Regions from separate parts of the Homo sapiens genome. Here all the other regions are linked to region 5. Evidence: promoter capture Hi-C in 16 types of primary human blood cells and fetal thymus (Javierre and others, 2016). All regions are on one chromosome and are shown on one strand. Each heading gives the region's core, a stretch centred on a gene start or on the middle of the fragment in contact. The rest is flanking DNA. Distances are from core to core; before and after follow the strand shown.

Region 1 (2,700 bases), core at 162-2,661, 880 kb before region 5:
CCTGACTAGATCCCAGAAAGCTGCTAGCCAGGTTTATGCTCCCCAAGCAGGAGAAAAGATGAAACTGTCTGGGGTCAAGAAAAAAGACCTAGACACCAAATAAACAGCTGGTTTTCTCAGTTTTTCTACATGGTGACCCTAAGGAAACATGCGCTATACATACTTAGGATTTCAATCAACTTGTCTTTCACATAAGGCAGAACAGAAAGTATCTAGCATAGAAGTCAGAGTCTACAATGCATAAACAGAATAAAAGTAACTTAGAAGAGACAGATATATTGTATGAAGAAGAATATAGTCACAGCTATGTTTCCCTGGGAGGTAGACTCTGAAATGGGCTTGAGCATGCAAGATATTTATTAGGGAGTCACTTTGGAGGGGACAAAAGCAGGGGTGGGCTAACAAAGAAGGCAAGCTGCAAGGCCAGTCCCATGACAGCCTCAGCCTCAGTGTCTGGGGCTAGAACAGCCCTTCAGAACTCTCCCACATTGGGCCAAGATGGCCAAGCACTCATAGCTCACATGGAACAGTCTTTGGGTGTGGCTACCTCAAAAAGGGAAGGTGATCTTGGGCAACAACTCTTTCCTTGAAGGGTGATCTGAGTGTTGCATCCAGTGCCTACCATAAAAACTTTAAAGAAACTATAATAAATAAATTTAGAAAGCTAAATAAAAGCACTATTCCATCTGATGAAATAAGAAAATAATGTTATGTATTTTTTAACATAGAGTATTCTGAAAACATAAGATCGCTCTTGAAATTTTAAAATATAACAATGGAAAGGGTTAAAGAGAATCCCCAGTTTGATAGTAAGGGGAAGACCCTGGACCAGAGCTTGCAGTAGGCACAGGGAACAACCAGTTGTGGGAGGAGGCAGCCAGAGGGCTTAAGGGAAAGGGGATGGATACTTTGAAAAAAATGAAACTGATGGATCACTTATTATATTTGCATTGAGAGAGGCTGTATACCTTGGATTTGGGGGATGAATCAGTAGTAGAAATATAAAAATCAGCTAATGAAAAAATCGTGCAATTTTTCATTTAGGAAAGCAAAGAGTTGAAAAAAAAGGTCAGAGCACCCTTCTGAGCTCAGCTGTGTATAGTATTTATGTAGTCATAATAAAGCAAACACAGAATAGAGGTTAAACCAAAAATGGTAATTTACCAGCATTTAGAGGCTGAGGAAATGGGAAGTATATATTAAGTGGTGTGGGGAGAGTTGATAGGGCTGGATTCTTTTCTCCAATAAGAGGAAGCAATAGAAAATACCTAAAGCTTTATTGCACATATATAAGAAATTAGTATAAACATGTTATTTAGCCATTTGGAATTAGATGCCAGAAGAAATAGCTAAACAAGTTGAAATTGGTATCTGCACATCGAGAGTTGGGGATAGCAAATGGAGAAGTAGAGTACTGCTGTTTTTCATTATAAATCTTATAATCCTTTTTGACTCTATATACTATATACCTGCATTAAATCCTGCTTTATGTTGATAAAAATTCCTGTTGCCATAATAGTTTTGCATCCAATCTTTTTGAAAAGCTTGGTTTATGGCACTACAATTCAGTCCAAGAGGAATTAACCCAAGTTCAAGCATATTTTATGATACCTGGGAAAGAAGAAATCAGAGAGCCAATGGTATTCATACTTTAATGATTTGATTTCCCATTTCAATAATTAATAATTTTCTTGACTCTGATGAAATACAATGACTTTGTTCCTACATGACCCATTTTACTCTTCATCTCAGCTAACTTTTCTTCAGCCACAATTTCTTTGTTTTTTTTTTTCTTGTTAAAAAACATCTGTTGAAGTCTAGGTAAAATTAACTTTAATTTTGGTTTCTTTCCAAATTCTGCATTTAACCTGGATGAGTGAATGAAGGGTTGAAGGACCATCGCATTTTCATGTTATAATTGATGTTTATGTTGGGCAAGTGAACACTGTTCATATATCAAGCTGTCAAGTATTGTCACCTTAATAGAGTAAACAATTAAAAAGAAGAATTGTAACAATCATTTTAATGGGCTTCTTGTTCATTAATTTCATAGAAAAAAACTAAAACTGATTTGTGAAAATAAACTACCCATACTTTGCCTCTTTCTCTCTTTTTAAAGTGATCCATCAGCTAGACCATCACAAGTGTTCTGTAAATCTATTTTATTCCCCTTACTTTATAGGAAAATTAGATTATAGATCCAAGTGGAGAAAAGGCCATTGTCTGGGTTCCTGTGATCTCATTTTACCCATAGGTCACAGGAGGTATTCAAAGTTCTTAAAATTGCACACTACAAAGAAGGAACTGAGGTCCTTTTTCTAGACAAGATAACCCACCACCTCCCTCAAGTGGTCAGTTGGATTAGTTTTCTGTTTCCAGAGCTGACTATAGTTATTTCCAAGAACTATAGAGTCATGTATAATGGCTGGGTTGAATGGACCTTTTTTTCTTTAATAAATTGATTGGATTTTAGGGTGAAGTGTGCTGACTATATTAAATTGCACTATATTTTAACTTCTCTATGTCAAAAGAAAAAGACACTTAACCAGGGGCTAGCAGTTGTTTACAGGGCTGGCCAGCTCAGGATTGCTTTCACTGTGGCCTTTGCCTTTCCTGCTAAGAGCTTAATCCAAACTTCATCATTTTGACTTCCTTAAAGTCTTGTACCAATTTCTTTTTCACTAGAGCAAAGGTGTTAAT
Region 2 (2,700 bases), core at 103-2,602, 640 kb before region 5:
GTGTGGGAAAAGAGAAATTTCCAGTTTCTGATTACTGAACTACCGTACAGCTCTCTTTGAACAAATACTGGCCGGTGGCCCAAAGTCCCAACTGTAGCTCTTTGAGCTTTGCTAAAGGACATTAAGGGAAGTCCTGATCTGTTGTTAAGTGGAAACAGTGTAAATTATTTCTAATGGAAAGAATGACAAAAGCAAAACTTCCCCATCCCTGCTATTTCCTTGATAAATTGCTTTGTTTACTCGTCTACAGGATGTAATGCAGACATTTCTGTTTTTTATAATCTTTCTTAAAAACCATGTCCTTAAACAAAGCATTGAAAATAATCTCTTCTTTTTTTTTTAAATCAGGAACAAGGCTACACCTGGACTTTGTATTTTTGATAAAGAATTCAGCATAAACAAAGTTGGGTGTGACTAACACCATCATATTTCTAACTTACTTTCATCTGGCATTTTACAATTTTCTAAGACACTTTCATATGCACAAATTGATTTTCATGTCAACTGAGAGAAAAGGATATTATTATCCCTATTTTAGAAATGGAGAAAATAGGACACAGGAAGATGAATTTACTTGGTGGATGATAGATGGGTCTGTCTTGCAGGCCTTTTAGTAGCACAGTGAGGCATTTCTTATCTCCTCCAAAGCAGTACGAAACAGCTACCATGTAAATCAGCATAACTCTGACATCCTGAAGTTAATGTCAATTTTCTTGTCAAGCTCACACCTATATTTCCTCATCATCTCAAGGCCAATGTATCTTATCCACACCACTAACTCTTGTTCTTATTAGTTACCCTCGAGGTAAAAATTTCTCTTTACTCATACCCAAACTTTCCCATGCTTCTTTTCCCCAAACTTTTTTCACTGCTAACCTCCTTTGAAGCTCTTTCCACTGTAAGAAACACAATTTCTTTGTACTTACTCAAACCTATATCCTCAACCTCTTAGCAGAGCGAAATCTTCACCTTCTTTCCTTAACTGAAACTTGGATTTCCTGCAAGAATATTATTTCCCTTGAGCTTTGACAAGCAAAAACTGCTTATTCTCTCTTCCCAACACACTGAGAGATTTGGAAGCAGGGCTGGCATTCTCCTAGCTTCTAAATGCCAGCTCCAGGTGATTCCATTCCTACCCAAGTGCAATGGTGCGATCTCAGCTCACTGCAACCTCCACCTCTTCGGTTCAAGCAATTCTTCTGCCTCATCCTCCCAAGTAGCCGGTATTACAAGCGTGCGCCATCAAGCCTGGCTAATTTTGTATTTTTGGTAGAGACAGAGTTTCATCAGGTGGGCCAGGGTTGTCTTGAACTCCTGACCTCAGGTGATCCACCCACCTCGGCTTCCCAAAGTACTGGGATTACAGGCATGAGCCACAGTGCCCAGCCCTCTGCCCTCTTTGGAGTCTCGTGCTATAGCATGGAACATAATCACCTTCATCTACCTGCTTCTAGATCACTCCTAGATTCACAGAGAACTTCAGCACCTGGCTAACAAACACTGCCAAGCTCCTGCCGTTATCTTAGACAACTTCACTGTCCATGACTCACCGCTTCTCAAACTCCTGGATTTCAATGCCCTTTGCCTCTATTCCTCTTTAACACAACTCACCCCTGTGGCAAATCCAAACTTTATAATCACTGAGATTATCTGGAAACCTGAACAATGACTGTTCACAGCTCTGTCAGCACATGTCCTAGCAACTTTTATACTCTCCTGACATGGTAGCAATTTCTGTTCTTGATCTTTCTCTCTTTAACTCTTCCAGCCACCCTCCCATCTTTACTTCCTTCTCTAACCAGCCTACTCTAGCGGCCCACCAATTCCCTGAATTCCGTCTCACCACAGCCTCCTGCTTTCTGCTGTACTCCCCACTAACTTGCTATTTCCTGTAGTTATCCTGGTGGTTTAAGGCATAGACTGGGGGATCCAGACTCCCTTCATTTGAAGCCCATTTCTACCACTTAGTAGTGATTCCACTTCAAATAAATCATTTAATTTTTTATGGCTTCCATTTTCCTTAGCTGGAAAATAATAGTAGTACCTATTCATGACTATCACAAGTTATTATGAAGACTGGAGTAATATACGTAGAGTGCTTAGAATAGTACCTAGCACATAAGTGTTCAGTAAATGCTTACTCTTATGACAACTGAACTTCTGGATGCTACTTCCTTAAAAAAGTCGTATAACCAAATTAATAAGCGCAAATATATGTCCAGATATGCAAAGTAAAACACAAACTGACAAAAATCTTCTTTTTTCATTCCTCTCTCTATATATTGCCTGTTTAAGGGAGACTTTTGAGAAAATACCCTGGTAGGGCCTGAGACTCTCTGACACCATTATGTTAACCGTTTGTCTTCCTCACCAGAAGTATATAAGATTAACAGACTGATGAATGTCTATTATTTTTAAGGCAGGAATGGCAAGGACATTAGGTGACCTCTTCCAAGAAGACAGACTTTAAAAACCAGGCAGTTTGGGCACAGTGGCTCATGCCTGTAATCCTAGCACTTTGAAAGGCTGAGGCTGGTGGATTGCCTGAGCTCAGGAGTTCAAGACCAGCCTGGGCAACATGGTGAAACCCTGTCTCTACCAAAAAACACAAACAATTAGCCAGGCGTGGTGGTGCGTGCCTGTGGTCCCAGCTAGGTCTCAGGAGGCTGAGAAGTGGGAGGATCACTTGAGCCTGGGATG
Region 3 (2,700 bases), core at 47-2,546, 700 kb before region 5:
AATACATTTGGGAAACTACATACATTTCAATTTTGTACCTTTAAAATAAAAAGGGGATTAGACACATGAATTTTTTTTAAAAAACTATTTAAAAGGCAACCAAAAGAAAAATATCAACAAATGTTTTGTGAAAACTATGGCCATGGAGAAGGACACAGAGCTACGTATTTCTCCAGTCCTTCAGAAGGTACCACCCATCGATGAGGCAAAAGGCCCAAGAGAGGACAAACTGTGCTTAAGACCTGTGTCTATTCACAATTATTGGTTATTATGTTTCAAAACAAAAGCACCAAAAATTGACTGATGTCCTAAAGCTATACTTAAACTACAAACACAAATTACGAAAATATATTTCAGCAGCACCTTTGCAAAGATCCTCCTCTCATTTTCTATTAATTGTACTATATGAACAGTCAGACGTTCCAAATATACTACCCACTGTGAGGAGCTGCCCTAAAGCAAACAGAAGCAGGTCTCCTTGCCCCTCAACACACTATAAATGGTCCATATATTGACAGCTGTGAAGATAATTTCAAAATCTAGCCTCATCTACTCAACAAAAAAATATTACCCATACTGGCAACCATATTTTTTAACTCTGTGGTCTAGTCTATGTGTATGTATATATATTAATCATTTTCTACATGTATATATCTAAAAGAATTATTCTCAATTGACAAAAAAAGTTTTTAAAGTCCAAGAACAAGATTAAGAATAAAAGCTTTAGCATTTGGAAAAAGGTAAATTAAATCCATTCTTCACATCATACTGGAGAATAATCTCCAAATGAACCAGAGATCTAAAAAGAAAAAATGTAAAACTACAAAAGCACTAGAAGAAAACACAAATGAATTCCTCTATAACTTGAGTGTGGGGAAAACTTTTGCATGGCAAAAATCAATTAGTAGCAAAGTCAAAAGATAAATGACAAGCTAAGGGAAAATACTGCAGCATACATCACAGAAAAATAAGGGGAGTGTGAGGAGGTTGTATCTCAAGCTTACAAAGGACCTTGAAAAATCAGGGAAAGAGACCAAAAATGCTATCAAAAAATGGGCAAAAGACAAAAAAAGACAAATCAAAGAAAGTCATAATGGCCCTTAAAATATAAAAAATTGTGATACTTCATTCGTAACCATAGACATACAAATTAACACTACATTGAGATATCATTTTTCACCCAACAGAACAAGCAAAACTTCAAAAGCCTGAAATATACTCTGCTGGTGAGACTGTGGAAAAACAGGGACTCTCCTACAACTGTTGGTAGGAATCCAAAATAGTATAATGGAGACAAATTTGGCAGTATCTAATGAAACTGCATATGCATACACTCTTCAACCCAGAAATCCTACTTGTAAGAATTTACCCTAGGACAGAGGGGTCCAATCTTTTGGCTTTCCTGGGCCACATTCGAAGAAGAATTGTCTTGGGCTGTACATAAAATACACTAACACTAATGATAGCTGGTGAGCTAAAAAAAATTGCAAAAATTCTCATAACGTTTTAAGAAACTTTACAAGTTTGTATCAGGCCACATTCAAAGCCATCTGGGCCACATGTGGTCCATGGGCTGCGGGTTGGATAAGCTTGCCCTAGAGCTACATCTCCAACATTACAAAGGTATATATTCATAAGGTTAGTCATTTCAAGCATTATTTGTAACTGTAAAATACTGAAAACTACCGATGTCCAACTATAGGAGATTGTTTGAATAAATTACGGTACATACACTCATGAAGCAAAACTAAAACAGAATAAAGATAAGCTCCATGAACTGACAGGAAGTGATTTCCAGGAAATACCATTAAGTGAAAAAAGCAAAGTTAAAACCAACACACACAGTATGATACCTTTTGTGTAAGAAAGTAGCGAAAATAAGAAAATGTATATATTCCATTATGAATCAGAAAATGTATTATCATTACAAAAAGAAACAGGAAGAATCAACTAGAAAACAATGAAGTTAGTCACCTAGGATAGGTGGGAGAACAGGCTGGAAGCGTTATAAAGGTAAAGTGACATCTCTTTGAGTACCACTTCTTGTGTAGTTCTGACTTTTGGAAGCAAGTTCATCTTATACATATTTGAAAATAAAAGTAAATCAATAAGGAGTGGGGGATAGGAGATAAAAACCTAAAACAGAGGGCAAACTGGAACAAATGAACCCAAATGAATTTTAAATGAAAAGGGAAAAAGCAGGCACAGTATTTGACTTTACTGCCCCTTAGGGTGAAGAACTGAAAACACATCCTGAACTCTTATTCACAGGATATTTTTAAGTGGCATAAGCAAAACAACTGTGAAACCATTTCAGATATAGGAATGAGGAAAAGAGTAAATGTGTTGATGTAGCTAGGAATCAGGGTTCTCACTGTGGAAGAAGGTACACATAAACATAGAATAGGGTAGTCAAAAGGAAATCTGTAAGGATTGACTGCAATTTATAGTATATGTGCAAATTCACAGTGTCTAAAATACGTATATGCATGTGTATGTGCATACGCACAGTATATAAGAATAAATACATGTATATTTGCACATGCACTTACATGCATATTGTGTATATATGCATATATATTTTCTAGTTTGTCCACTGAAAGGATCTATAATCCAGATTTCATTTCCCTGCTAAAAGAAACAAAAATTCCTTGGAAAAATGACTGATACCAGAGCTTGAACAAATAGAAGAGAAAGTAA
Region 4 (2,856 bases), core at 264-2,763, 720 kb before region 5:
TGGTTGTCAATCGACAGAAGTACAGCCCAAAGAGCTTTTGTAGATTTAATTAAGCTCCATTATGAGGCACTATTCATGTCAACTCTCGTCTGGGCATGAAATAACAAACGTTTCATTCTTTCTTAAGCTTAAATGAATTTTGTATGTAAGAGAGTATGAATTTTATAAGAATGTAATGAATGTAAGAGAGTAAGAATTTTGTATGTAAGAGAGAGACAAAGAGAGAATGTGTTGGGCCCTAACAAACTGGGGACATTTACTTTCTCTCTTTATTTATAAAGCAACATATTCTCTTCATTACAGTCTGCAATCAAGTAGGTTCTGCTTTTGGAGAAAAATGGTAACTAGGACATTGCTAATTAGATAGCAGTTGTTTAATAATGCTGTTTTATAACTGAGTTAGCAACAAGGATATCAAATAAAGCCTGAGAAGTGAGGGTCAACGTCTATTTGAACTCTACTCAATGTCTATGTCTATATCCAACTCCTACCCTTCAATCCCAACTGGATGCCACAAATCTCTTCAACTTCTGCCTCTTCCTAAATTGATCTGTAATTTTTAAAATATCAAGGAATAACATTTCCAAACTCTATCACAGGAAAACTATTTAGAAACAACTACTTTTGATTCTTTCAGAATTTATCCCAAAAATACTGAAGCAATTTACCTCAAATTTCTTCACCTTTTCCATTGTGATCAAGCGCCTTGATGTGTGACTGGAAAGCTTCTGCTCGCAGTTGCTAACGAGTTCCAGGCAAGGGTGCCAAGGCACCATCTCTTCAGTGTATCTGAAGAAAGAACAGCTGACTGTTAGGAACACTCACATGTGTGGGCCACAAAGAATCATGGGGATCGTCCAGTGTAGTGTGGGATGTTCTTCCACTACATGCTCTTTTTCCCCACATATGCTAACTGTCCACATGATCCATAAACTATCTATAAGCAAAGTAGCTTAATTTTATCATATCCCAAAAATGCAGTTAAATTTTTTACCTGTAGAATAAGAGAGAGAGAAATATTGTAAGTACATTTTGTTGAAGAATGCCAAACATTTAAACCACAAAAGTACAAGATGATTCCACCCTACAGAATTCCACAAGAGTAGACAAAAATACACTCAACAACATCCCTTGACATTCATGAAGGACTGATTCATCTGTAGATTTTTATAAATTCCCGAAGTGTATAATCCACTACAGCATATACTTTCCCCTCTAAAATGAAGTGCCCGTAAAATTTTAATAACGTCTTGTTAAAATTTAAACGTCTAATTTAAAAACATCTCTATTACGTTTGTAAATACAGAACTAAAGTTATTTGTAAAATTATTCAAATAAACTACAACTAAAATAAACACTACAGATTACATCAGTCTTCTGGTCATATGAACCAGGAAACAAAATGAAAATATGCCAATGAGTGGTGGAGACTGCTACTGTACAGCACATGTCCTACATGGATGAAGATGATGACAATGTCTAGAAAGCAGGAGTCAATAGCAGGAGTTCAGAATCTGGCATCTGACAGGTTGTTAGCATCAATCTTGGCCAAAGAAATAGGTAACAGAGGTGGGAGAAACAGCTATGGAACAGAATGTGAAAGAACAGCAAGGGAGGGGACTCACTAGGCATGGGTACTTTTAAGAACACTGTGTTGGCCAGTATTTATTTTTCCTTTGCAATTTTTTACACCTTTTTGGATGGTGTCTGCACACATTTATTATACAGGTAATCTTAAAGGTCTGCTCCAAAATAGCAAAGGTGCTGATTAGTTTTTCATGTAAAGGACCACAATCTCAGCTACCTGTTTTAATGCATCAACACTGTTTTCACCACCACTCTTTCATGAACTTTTCTAGGTCCCACTGACCTTCAACGAGCTCTCCCTATTACCTCAACCATATGCTCAAACCCATCATCACCCACTTCCCAAGCATCATTCATAATGCACTTCACTTTATTATCAGTGGAAAGAATTATCTTGAAGTCATTCTCTGACTTCTTCCTAGAGCTTTCTAACAAGTAATGAGCACTTCAGATTTCACCTCATCTAGTAATTCTTTAATGTTCACTACATAGCCAGAAATGTTGTACTTCTTATAACAATGACATCAAATTTTGAATCTTCATGCAATGCATTTATGACATGAAAGAATAAATTCTTTTTTTACTTTTTCAGAGAACGGATCTTGCTCTGTTGCCGAGGCTGGAGTACAGTAGAAAGAATATATTCTACACCATGGTTGAGACTAAAATAAAAAGTGCTAACAGAGAGAAGATATAGCCTTAACCTTAAGCTTGCAAACCGTAGGATCTATAGATGCTGGAAACAGTTTGTGTCAAACTAAGTAATATACTAATTTTTAAAGGAAAAAAATTTTTTACTTCCTGGTGGACTGACTTAAAGTATTTTTTTATTAAGGTGTCACTTAAATATGCACAAGCATAAATTAGATATAAACTCTTCATGTTTAGATCCCTAATATAACTATAAAACCCAAAAAGCAAATTTATCAATCAAATCCAAGGTACCAACACAATTTTAATTAACATCTATGACATGAATGACGCTAAACTGCTAAACTAAGTTGCTGCATTTGGTTTTAACAGCAGAAAAACATATTTGCATGTTTCATATTATCTTTTTTGACTCGATCTTAATTCATTTTTAACAATTAATCTATTATATTAATGAGCCAATTAATTTAACAATACACTCCCAAAGCACCATACTAAAAAGATTAAAAAATAGCAGTTAAAAAATTCTTCAGCTGGGCGTGGTGGCTCACGCCTGTAATCCTAGTGCTTTGGGAGGCCAAGGCAGGTGGATCACCTGAGGTCAGGAGTTCAAGACCA
Region 5 (2,700 bases), core at 129-2,628:
GCCACTTTTCTTTTTTCCAATTTTGGCAAAAGAGAGCAAAGAAAGCCTCCTAGCTCCCTGAGTAAGGTTAGAGCAAGCAGCATCCTCTAGCTGATCTACAATAGACACTTAGCATGAGAGAGAAATAAACCTTTGATGTGTTAAACTGCTGAGATACAGGAAATAAGGAGGTTGTTTGTTATTATAACATCCCAGCCTATACTTTGCTTCCTAATTTGGTGAGAAAATAGAAGCAATCAGAAGAGAACTTCTACAACCTCCCATGACCACATGTGCGACTGATTAGTCACCCTATACTCTGTCCTCCTCCAATATTTGAATGAATTCTCCATATTCCTATCTAAAGCCCATCTTTTATCTTGTACACCAGATGGGAATATTTTTCCTTACTCAAGGCCGACATTCAAATATTTCTCTTCTTTGTCTCTTACATAATCAATGTTTCCCTTTCTACTAGATCCCCTTCATCAGTAAACATACATAATATCTCCTGTTTTGAAACAATCTCTCCACTAGTTAACAGCACCCCAACCCCATCTCCAATGTGCTGTAATACTTGCTCCTATTCTCTTCGGAATTATCTCACTAGGTTCTGCTTGGCCCACTACACTGAAAACTGCTTTTGTCAGGGTAACCAATAATATTGAATTTACTAAGTCTGGAAGTCAAACCTTGGTCCTCACATTGACTTGGTTGACCATATTCCTTCCTTCTTGAAATATTTTTGTACATGGCTTCCAGGACACAACTATCCTACCTACTAATCCTCTTCCTACCTCACTGGCTGTTCCCTCTTGATCTCACAAAGCCTAAATGTTGGGGTTCAGGTCTTGGGTGTCTTTTCTTCTTCATTCACACCCTCTTGCCAGGTGACCTCATCCAGTTTCATGGTTTTACACTGTCAACTGAAGAATAACGAGGTTCATAAATTTAGAAAGGAGAGCTTTATTTTTCATAAAGAGTACTGAGTGTCAAGTATGTGCCAAGCAAGGTGTCTGCCACTGACGGAGCAATGCCCAAGCAGCGGACACCAAGGCCAAGAAGGCGAAGGCTGGACAGAAGGTCCTGAGAAAACCGTGAGAATATGGAGGAGGGGGAGGAGGAATAAGAACAGGAGGAGGAGGGGGAGGAGGAATAAGAACAGGAGGAGGAGGAAGAGGAGGGGGAGAGAGGAAGAGGGGCAGGAGGAAGAGGAAGAGGAGAAAGCGGAAGTGGGGGAGGAGGAGGAGGAGTTGGAAGGGGAGGAGGAAGAGGGGGAGCAGGAAGAGGGGCAGAAGGAAGAAGAAGAGGGGGAGGAGAAAGAGATAGAAGAGTAAGAGGAGGGGGAAGAAAGACAAGGGGAAGGGGAGGAGGAGGAGGACGGGGAGGAGCTTCGCCGCGGCCTGCTCCGCCCAGCCGGGGTCGGTGGCCGCATGGCTTCGGTCTCCTCTGCGACCTTCTCGGGCCACGGGGCTCGGTCCCTACTGCAGTTCCTGCGGCTGGTAGGGCAGCTCAAGGTGAGCGGGCACCAGGCCGGGAGGCCGCGGCCGAGCGGGCGGGACTGTGGGGCGGCGGAGCTTCCGGCCTCCCCGCTCGGCCGGCGGTCTTTGCCCTTCCTGCGCCGCGTCCGCCACGCCGAATTCCGGAAAGGCCCCAGTCCTGCGGATGCGGCCGCGCGTTGCCGACGGTGGACGGAGGAAGCAGCCGGCGGGACAGGCTGGCCAGCTGGGGCGGCCCGGAGTCTGAGCCTAGAGCCTGGCGCCGCGAGGTCCGCACTGCAGCCGCGCCAGTTCCCGGAGAGCAGCCGGCCTGGCCCTGCCTGCACTGAGCTTTTCCGGGGCTCACGACCCCAGAACTCGTGTGTGTGTGTGTGTGTGTGTGTGCTCACGACCCCAGAACTCGTGTGTGTGTGTGTGTGTGTGTAAAGCGCGGCTGCTTCTGAGCACGGGTGGGAAGAACAGAATCTGTCGGCTCCTCAGATTTTAAGTGGAGCTTTTTATGTCTGTCTCACAGTTACTTCCAGAAACAAGACTTTTCTCCCGGCCACCCCCCAAACGGGATTTAATGTAATACACACGAGTTTCATCATGTGCGTCTTCCCCGTCTCTCTCCCAAGTTCAAAGTAAATTATCCGTTTCATGCCACTCTGACTACTATTTATAACATTCCTTAGAGATGTAGAATTCTGAGGAAGAAATGCAGTTTCACAAGATGAAGTTATGATGTGAATAAAAGGAAGAGTCACGGCTGGTAGCATCAAGCAATTAGAAGTGCCCTTATCCCTTGTGCCTCAGAATTTGGAAGCCTATCACTCGTTCACGTTCAGACCCTTCAATACAGTGTTTTCTGCTTGTGTAGGATTATTTGAAGGCAAAAAGCCGCAACTCTTGTTCGGAAAAATGCAGTTTTGTTTTTGTTTAAAGGACTTGCATATGTTCCATAATTATACATCAGTAACAGAATAATTTGACGAATGGACTTTGTGACTTATCTCTCTCTGTCTTCTACCCCTTTCATTCTCTGAGCTCTCTAGTTCATTTGATTCCAGATGTCTATCATTTTAGCTAGTTTAGCAAAACATTTTGTAATAGGTTCTGAAATTATGACCCGGCTTCTGTGTGTTATATCCTGGACATCTCTTGAAGAGCATAGCAGATAGTTAATATTTGTTCTTTAAAACTTCTTTTTCTTCTTCATATTTATCAGAGAGTCCCACGAACT
Region 6 (2,776 bases), core at 76-2,575, 620 kb before region 5:
CAGGTGTGAGCCACCACACCTGGCCTTTTAGCTAAAATTTTCTTAGCAATTCTGGAAATGCATTTAAAGACTAAGGGCTGGATGATATTGGGGAATTACTGTTAATTTTGTTAGATCTATTGCATTGTGATTATGAGAAAATGTCTTTTTTTCTATTAATGTATTTAAAAAAATTGTATAAAACAACTTTTATATAATAGTGTTGTTCAGCCTATACCATATAAAAATGTAATACATTTAGCAATAGCAGAACAAAGGAATCCAAGGGAATAGATGAAGAGCAACCCAGAAATGATAAAAGGAAAGTCATATAACAAAACATATAAATGTACATTTGCTCTTCTTCTCTCAACTTCCTTAGCAGACATAAAATTATGTAACATAGTAATCATAACAATCTATTGCTATATTTGTAATATATACAGATATAACATTTATAACATTAGTACCACAAAAAGTTAAAAGATGTAATAGAGCAAAATAGGAGTAACATTTCTATACTTCACTGGAAGTTAGTAATTAGTCTCTATTAATTGCCTGATGATTGTTCTATTGTTGTCAACAATGCCTGGTGGTGTAAATTATTCCACAGTCTGATTCAATTAAATGTAGGTTCCTTTGCATGGATAGTTTCTTTGGCCAGACTATGAAGTTTACCCTGTCTCCAGAAAGGCTCTCCATAGCTGTCTCTTTTCTTGGATCTCTCTGGTAAAGTAGATGGTCTACAGTTTAATTTGTTGCCTTCATGGCTACAGCCTTCTTCTTAACACCAAAATTCTCATTGTTTTCTAGAGTGCCCTTTGGCTTGAACTTCCCCAAGTGTGTCTAAACAAAGTCAGTTCCTTTGGGTAGAGCTTTAGAACTCTATGTCCTGTGGCCTGCCTCTTCCCCTGGGAAAAAAATCTCTAACCCACTGCTCTGAAGCTAGGGACTAGACAGTGACAGCAGCCTCTGGTCTTGGCTTGCCTCATCTGGTGCAAAACTTCTGCCCTGTGAGCTGAAATGAGAGCAGGAGAGACCCCTGTATTCTCAGCCTGCCATGCCTACCGTAGAGCATGGCTCTGTGAGTGGAGGGTGGGTAGAAGAAGAAAGCCCCCTACCTCTAGGCCACACTTGCTTGGATTTTAGCCTCAGAAACACTGATCTTGGGTGGGAGATAAGAAATACAGGGGACCCACAGTGAGAGAGGGTACACCATAACCCTTGACTGGCAGCTGTGGGAAGAGAGTGCCCCATCTTCTTGGCCATACATGCCCAGAGTGGAACCACTGTCAGTCTCAGCGGGGGGTTAGGGAAGGGAGAGAGTTGTGCCTCAAGTGCCACAGAGTCCCACTGTTATAACTGAGATTAATTAGATTTTCTTGAATAAATATTCCCTCACTGGCTTAGAATAATTTCCAGAGACTTTAAGTGATTGTTGTTTTTGTTATTTCTACCAGCTATGGTTCTTTCACTGGGGACTGATTCTGCAGAGCTCCTCATTGCTGCCAGTCTACATATATAATATTTTTATATTAGAATGTCATATAATTCATTTTCAGACACATTTGCAGGTGTTGTTCTATCATGTTCTCAAACACAGCAAAGCCACAGTTTCCCCTTCGGGGTAGATGGGGTGCAGAAAGCAAAGTTAGTGTCTGGTTGTCCTCAAATGACACAAGTGCCTCCAGGGTACATGATTCAGCAAGACTCCACCCAGTGACAAGACTGCAACCTTCAGTTGTAGGCCTCCTTTACAAATCGCACAGGAAGTTTGGTAAAACTGTGCTTCATCAATACCTGTTCTGTGTGAACCATCACATTCCTCAACAAGTGTGATATTTTGGTAAGTAAATAGGACAAATAATCTATACTTAGGTGAGAGTCTGTATGTGTGCTCTAAGATAATATAGCCATACCTCATCCAAAATATAACATCCAATTCTGGAACATTTCACTAAATTCCTAAGTCTCTTTTAAACCAACTGTTATCATTATTTTAATTTTTTTATCTTGACTCTACCCACCTTTCAGCTTGGATCTTTATTAAGCAAAATGTCAGCAATCAGGAAATAACAATAGTAACAATGACAGCTAAATTAATTCCCACAACTCTTAAGCTACAATAATATTACGATAAAGTCACAAAGATCACTGCTAAGAAAGACAGTGTCTTTGGTACCCCCATTTGTTCCCTAATTTTTCCCAAGGCAAATCATGACAGCAAAGTTCTATTTCCTGTAAAATGATCCCATGTATATGGCTCATTACAACGTGGACATGTCTCAGTATAAAAATGTTGTGCTTCACAGTAAGCTCCCCAATGCTTAACAGTGCCTAGCGCCTAACAGGCTCTAATTAGATATTTGCTGAGTGGATGAATAAATGAATGAATGAATGAATAAATGTTGAGTAAAATCTGCTTCAGTGACAGAAAATCTGCTCAATGCTGCATCTTAAAATCTTAGAGGAATTTCTAACAGAACACAGGTCAAACTGAAATGAGCAATGAGCAGATGTGAATGATGTCTTCCTTTCATGATGCAAGAGACTGACAGGAAAGTGACCGAAAAAAACCTGGACAGATTCCACTCCCATTCTGAGCTGACTTACGGGAAGAGATAACAGTGCAGGGACAAGGGGTAATAACTAGTTTTCACTAGTTCCTCCAAGAAAGACCAACTGTAACACAGGCAAAAGTACAATCAAGAACGGTACAGTGTATTCTCTGTGGTTTCTTAACAATTGGGCCCCTCAGGCACAACACACTATGGCCTTGACTGACTCTCCATCACAT
Region 7 (2,767 bases), core at 81-2,580, 600 kb before region 5:
GTCCCTCCCACACCTCACTTTCCCTTTAGAGTGTATTGTTGACAACTGGGCTGGCAGATTTCCCAATTTCTTTTCATTCCTGAACTCTTCTATTCTGATTTTGTTCACCTTTCTGTATATGCCCTTTGTTAAATCGAACCTGGCTCCGGTATTTTCTGGAAGGTGGCAGGTTTTAAAATCTTATTCCTGACTGGGTGCGGTGGCTCACGCCTGTAATCCCAGCACTTCGGGAGGCCGAAGCAGGCAGATCATTTGAGGTCAGGAGTTCTAGACCAGCCTGGCCAACATGGTGAAACCCCATCTCTTCTAAAAATACAAAAATTAGCTGGGCATGGTGGCATTACAGGGGTCTGTAATCCCAGCTACTTGGGAGGCTGAGGCAGAAGAATCACTTGAACCCCGGAGGCATAGGTTGCAATGAGCCGAGATCGCACCGCTGCACTCCAGCCTGGGCGACAAGAGTGAAACTCTGTCTCAAAAAAAAAAAAAAAAAAAATCTTATTCCTTCCCTCACCACTCTAGTGAAGCTGATCTTCTCAAAGATCATCCACTGTAAACATCAGCAGTATCTCAGTCATCACCCGTTTTAACCTTGGCAGGTCTGTCAATGGCTTTTTGGAAACTCTCTGTGACTCACGCTGTGGTCTGGATGAACCACTGAGCTTCTCTGGGCTTCCACTACCTCAGGACACTAAGCAGGGCTGATGGATGAGTGAACAGAATTACTAGTAATTACTCACCCTGGCTGCTACCTGCTGCTGAAGCAGTGGGTGTGTGGTAACACCCATGAACAGAGAACTGGGTCAAGTACTGGGTCCCAAGAAACCACTAATATTTAAGGAGAAAGCAGAGCCGTCCTAGCACAAGGCCAAGAAGAAACAGCAGACAGGCAAAATCGAGCTCATAAAATGCAAACCTGAGCATTTCACCTAACTGCCTGTAATGTTTTCCCAATGTCTCCTCATAGGTTTTGGGATAAATGTGACCTCTTTGGGGCTGCCTGGGAGCTTTGTTTTGCACCAGTCTCCAAAATGCAGCCAGTGTCCATTCTGGCTCTGTGCTCACACTATTGCTTTCTTTTTAAATTAAGAATCATGGCAAAGGTAAGCCCAGTGAAGTGTCTAAGGCTGGGGTAGGGGAAGGCTTCCCAGGGGCCATGGTTAAACTGGGTGTTGAGGGAGGCAGAAGAGTCCATTACAGTAGGAAGGAGAAACAGCATTCTACTGGAGGGAACCCATGCAAAGACATGGCATTGGAAGACCAGGGGGATGCTGCAGTGAGGTCAAAGTGGACATGGCAGAGCAAAAGGAGGACAATGCCATCAGATCACTGGTGATTTCTGACAAAGAATTCTGTAAAAAGGACAGAGATGCAGGATACCCAGGCCCTGCCTCAAGGTGCTCAGGTGGTGGAGAGTAAACAAAAAAATGTTAGCACAGTGCCAACACAACAGCTGAGGGGCATCGGAGCTGGGATGTTGGTGTTGAATAGGAACTCAAGAGGCAGGGAAGGAATTCCTGAGAGGAGGAATAAAAGAACAAGACTTACCATTTGCTTAATGGAAAGGTAGGAGATAAGAAGAAAGAAGACAGAGCAGGTGGGTCACTAGGTCACAGAAAGTCCCAAGCATAAGATAAAATACTTGGAACTCAGCCTGTGGCCACTGTTTCCTGAAGTGTGGTGGGGCAGTCCCAGTGACTTCAGAGGGTATGCAGAAGAACATATTTTAATACTTACATATGTACTTAAAGGGTAGTGGCTCATGCCTGTAATCCCAGCACTTTGGGAGGCTGAGGTGGGCAGTTCATGAGGTCAAGAGTTCGAGACCAGCCTGTCCAATATGGTGAAACCCTGTATCTACTAAAATTAGAAAAAAATTAGTTGGGCATGATGGCACACACCTGTAATCCCAGCTACTTGGGAGGCTGAGGCAGAAGAATTGCTTGAACCCAGGAGGTGGAGGTTGCAGTGAGCTGAGATCATGCCACTACACTCCAGCCTGGGTGACAGAGCAAGATTCTATCTCAAAAAAAAAAAAAAGAAGGTAGTAAAAATAAGTACTACTAGCATATTATTTTTCTGATTTCACAGATATTGCTATTTAGGAAAAGACTAAGTAAAAAAAATTACTATTTAAATCCTTTAAAGACAACCATTAAGTAAACAGTAGTATAGATGGTAGGCAGATCTAGGGATATTTGTGAGGGAGGGAATGTATGTGAATAGCTGAAGCTGCCATAGGAAACCACAGGCACAGGGAGGCCATGCGTTCATAGCTTTAGCAGGAAGAGACATGGACAAATCTGTGCTTGAGAAGGACTGCTGTGGAGCCAAGTAGGGAAGGCCAGGAAGAGACAGGATCAACTAGAAATAAAGGCCTTGTTGCTATGGCTGCAATGGTGATCCAGGCAGGAGATGGTCAAGGCCAGACCCCAGGTGTGGCAGAGGGCATGGGAAGAAACCTGCCATACATGCTCTGCCAGGCACAAAATCAACCCATCTAAAATCTGGCCCTCACCTTTGTTTAGGTTTTCTGTTTAATTACAAATTTGGCCTTAATCAGATTTCTTCATACACCTCAAAGGTCTTTATCTTCAATACAAGGCTCCTTTAGGGATTTATCCCAAAGGAGACACCATATTCAAATTACAAATCCCTGTTTAGCAGATAGAGTTGTCATCTCTAAAGAAGAAATTCAAAGAAGGTAAATGATAGTTTCTTGGAAGGCAGCACCTAACTCAGGCAACAAAGCACAACAGATTGAAGG

The links. Contacts are between HindIII fragments. The CHiCAGO score rates a contact against its expected background, and 5 or more counts as called.
Region 1: a contact is called between a fragment that was not itself captured here and the fragment with the promoter of HDDC2 in region 5, in 2 of 17 cell types (total CD4 T cells and activated CD4 T cells). The highest score is 6.3, in total CD4 T cells.
Region 2: a fragment that was not itself captured here is called in contact with the fragment with the promoter of HDDC2 in region 5 in 5 of 17 cell types (naive CD4 T cells, erythroblasts, fetal thymus and 2 more); the score reaches 9.2 in naive CD4 T cells.
Region 3: a fragment that was not itself captured here is called in contact with the fragment with the promoter of HDDC2 in region 5 in 10 of 17 cell types (total B cells, naive CD8 T cells, naive B cells and 7 more); the score reaches 13.8 in total B cells.
Region 4: a contact is called between a fragment that was not itself captured here and the fragment with the promoter of HDDC2 in region 5, in 4 of 17 cell types (activated CD4 T cells, non-activated CD4 T cells, total CD4 T cells and 1 more). The highest score is 6.2, in activated CD4 T cells.
Region 6: a fragment that was not itself captured here is called in contact with the fragment with the promoter of HDDC2 in region 5 in 4 of 17 cell types (total B cells, non-activated CD4 T cells, total CD4 T cells and 1 more); the score reaches 9.4 in total B cells.
Region 7: a fragment that was not itself captured here is called in contact with the fragment with the promoter of HDDC2 in region 5 in 6 of 17 cell types (total B cells, monocytes, naive CD8 T cells and 3 more); the score reaches 9.6 in total B cells.

What each region holds. Positions count from the first base shown.
Region 1 is chr6:126,176,105-126,178,804 of GRCh38, reverse strand. It overlaps a transcript of TRMT11 not described here. Among named protein-coding and RNA genes, the nearest start is that of CENPW, 160 kb to the left of the region's middle. The HindIII fragment of the contact is 270 bases long and covers 1,277-1,546 here.
Region 2 is chr6:125,941,990-125,944,689 of GRCh38, reverse strand. No RefSeq gene overlaps it. Among named protein-coding and RNA genes, the nearest start is that of HINT3, 13 kb to the left of the region's middle. The HindIII fragment of the contact is 5,560 bases long and covers 1-2,700 here.
Region 3 is chr6:126,002,060-126,004,759 of GRCh38, reverse strand. All of the region lies in intron 7 of TRMT11 (tRNA methyltransferase 11), which reads right to left. Among named protein-coding and RNA genes, the nearest start is that of TRMT11, 17 kb to the right of the region's middle. The HindIII fragment of the contact is 590 bases long and covers 1,002-1,591 here.
Region 4 is chr6:126,019,093-126,021,948 of GRCh38, reverse strand. TRMT11 (tRNA methyltransferase 11) reads right to left here. Exons shown (of 13, transcript NM_001031712.3): 12 at 669-789. Among named protein-coding and RNA genes, the nearest start is that of TRMT11, 34 kb to the right of the region's middle. The HindIII fragment of the contact is 1,572 bases long and covers 728-2,299 here.
Region 5 is chr6:125,300,645-125,303,344 of GRCh38, reverse strand. It overlaps HDDC2 (HD domain containing 2), which reads left to right and starts at 1,378. Exons shown (of 6, transcript NM_016063.3): 1 at 1,378-1,496; 2 at 2,686-2,700. The coding sequence starts at 1,413. RefSeq lists a silencer at 1,349-1,688. The HindIII fragment of the contact is 13,888 bases long and covers 1-2,700 here.
Region 6 is chr6:125,923,278-125,926,053 of GRCh38, reverse strand. All of the region lies in intron 13 of NCOA7 (nuclear receptor coactivator 7), which reads right to left. Among named protein-coding and RNA genes, the nearest start is that of HINT3, 32 kb to the left of the region's middle. The HindIII fragment of the contact is 5,398 bases long and covers 1-2,776 here.
Region 7 is chr6:125,902,983-125,905,749 of GRCh38, reverse strand. The region is part of intron 10 of NCOA7 (nuclear receptor coactivator 7); the gene reads right to left. Among named protein-coding and RNA genes, the nearest start is that of HINT3, 52 kb to the left of the region's middle. The HindIII fragment of the contact is 8,983 bases long and covers 1-2,767 here.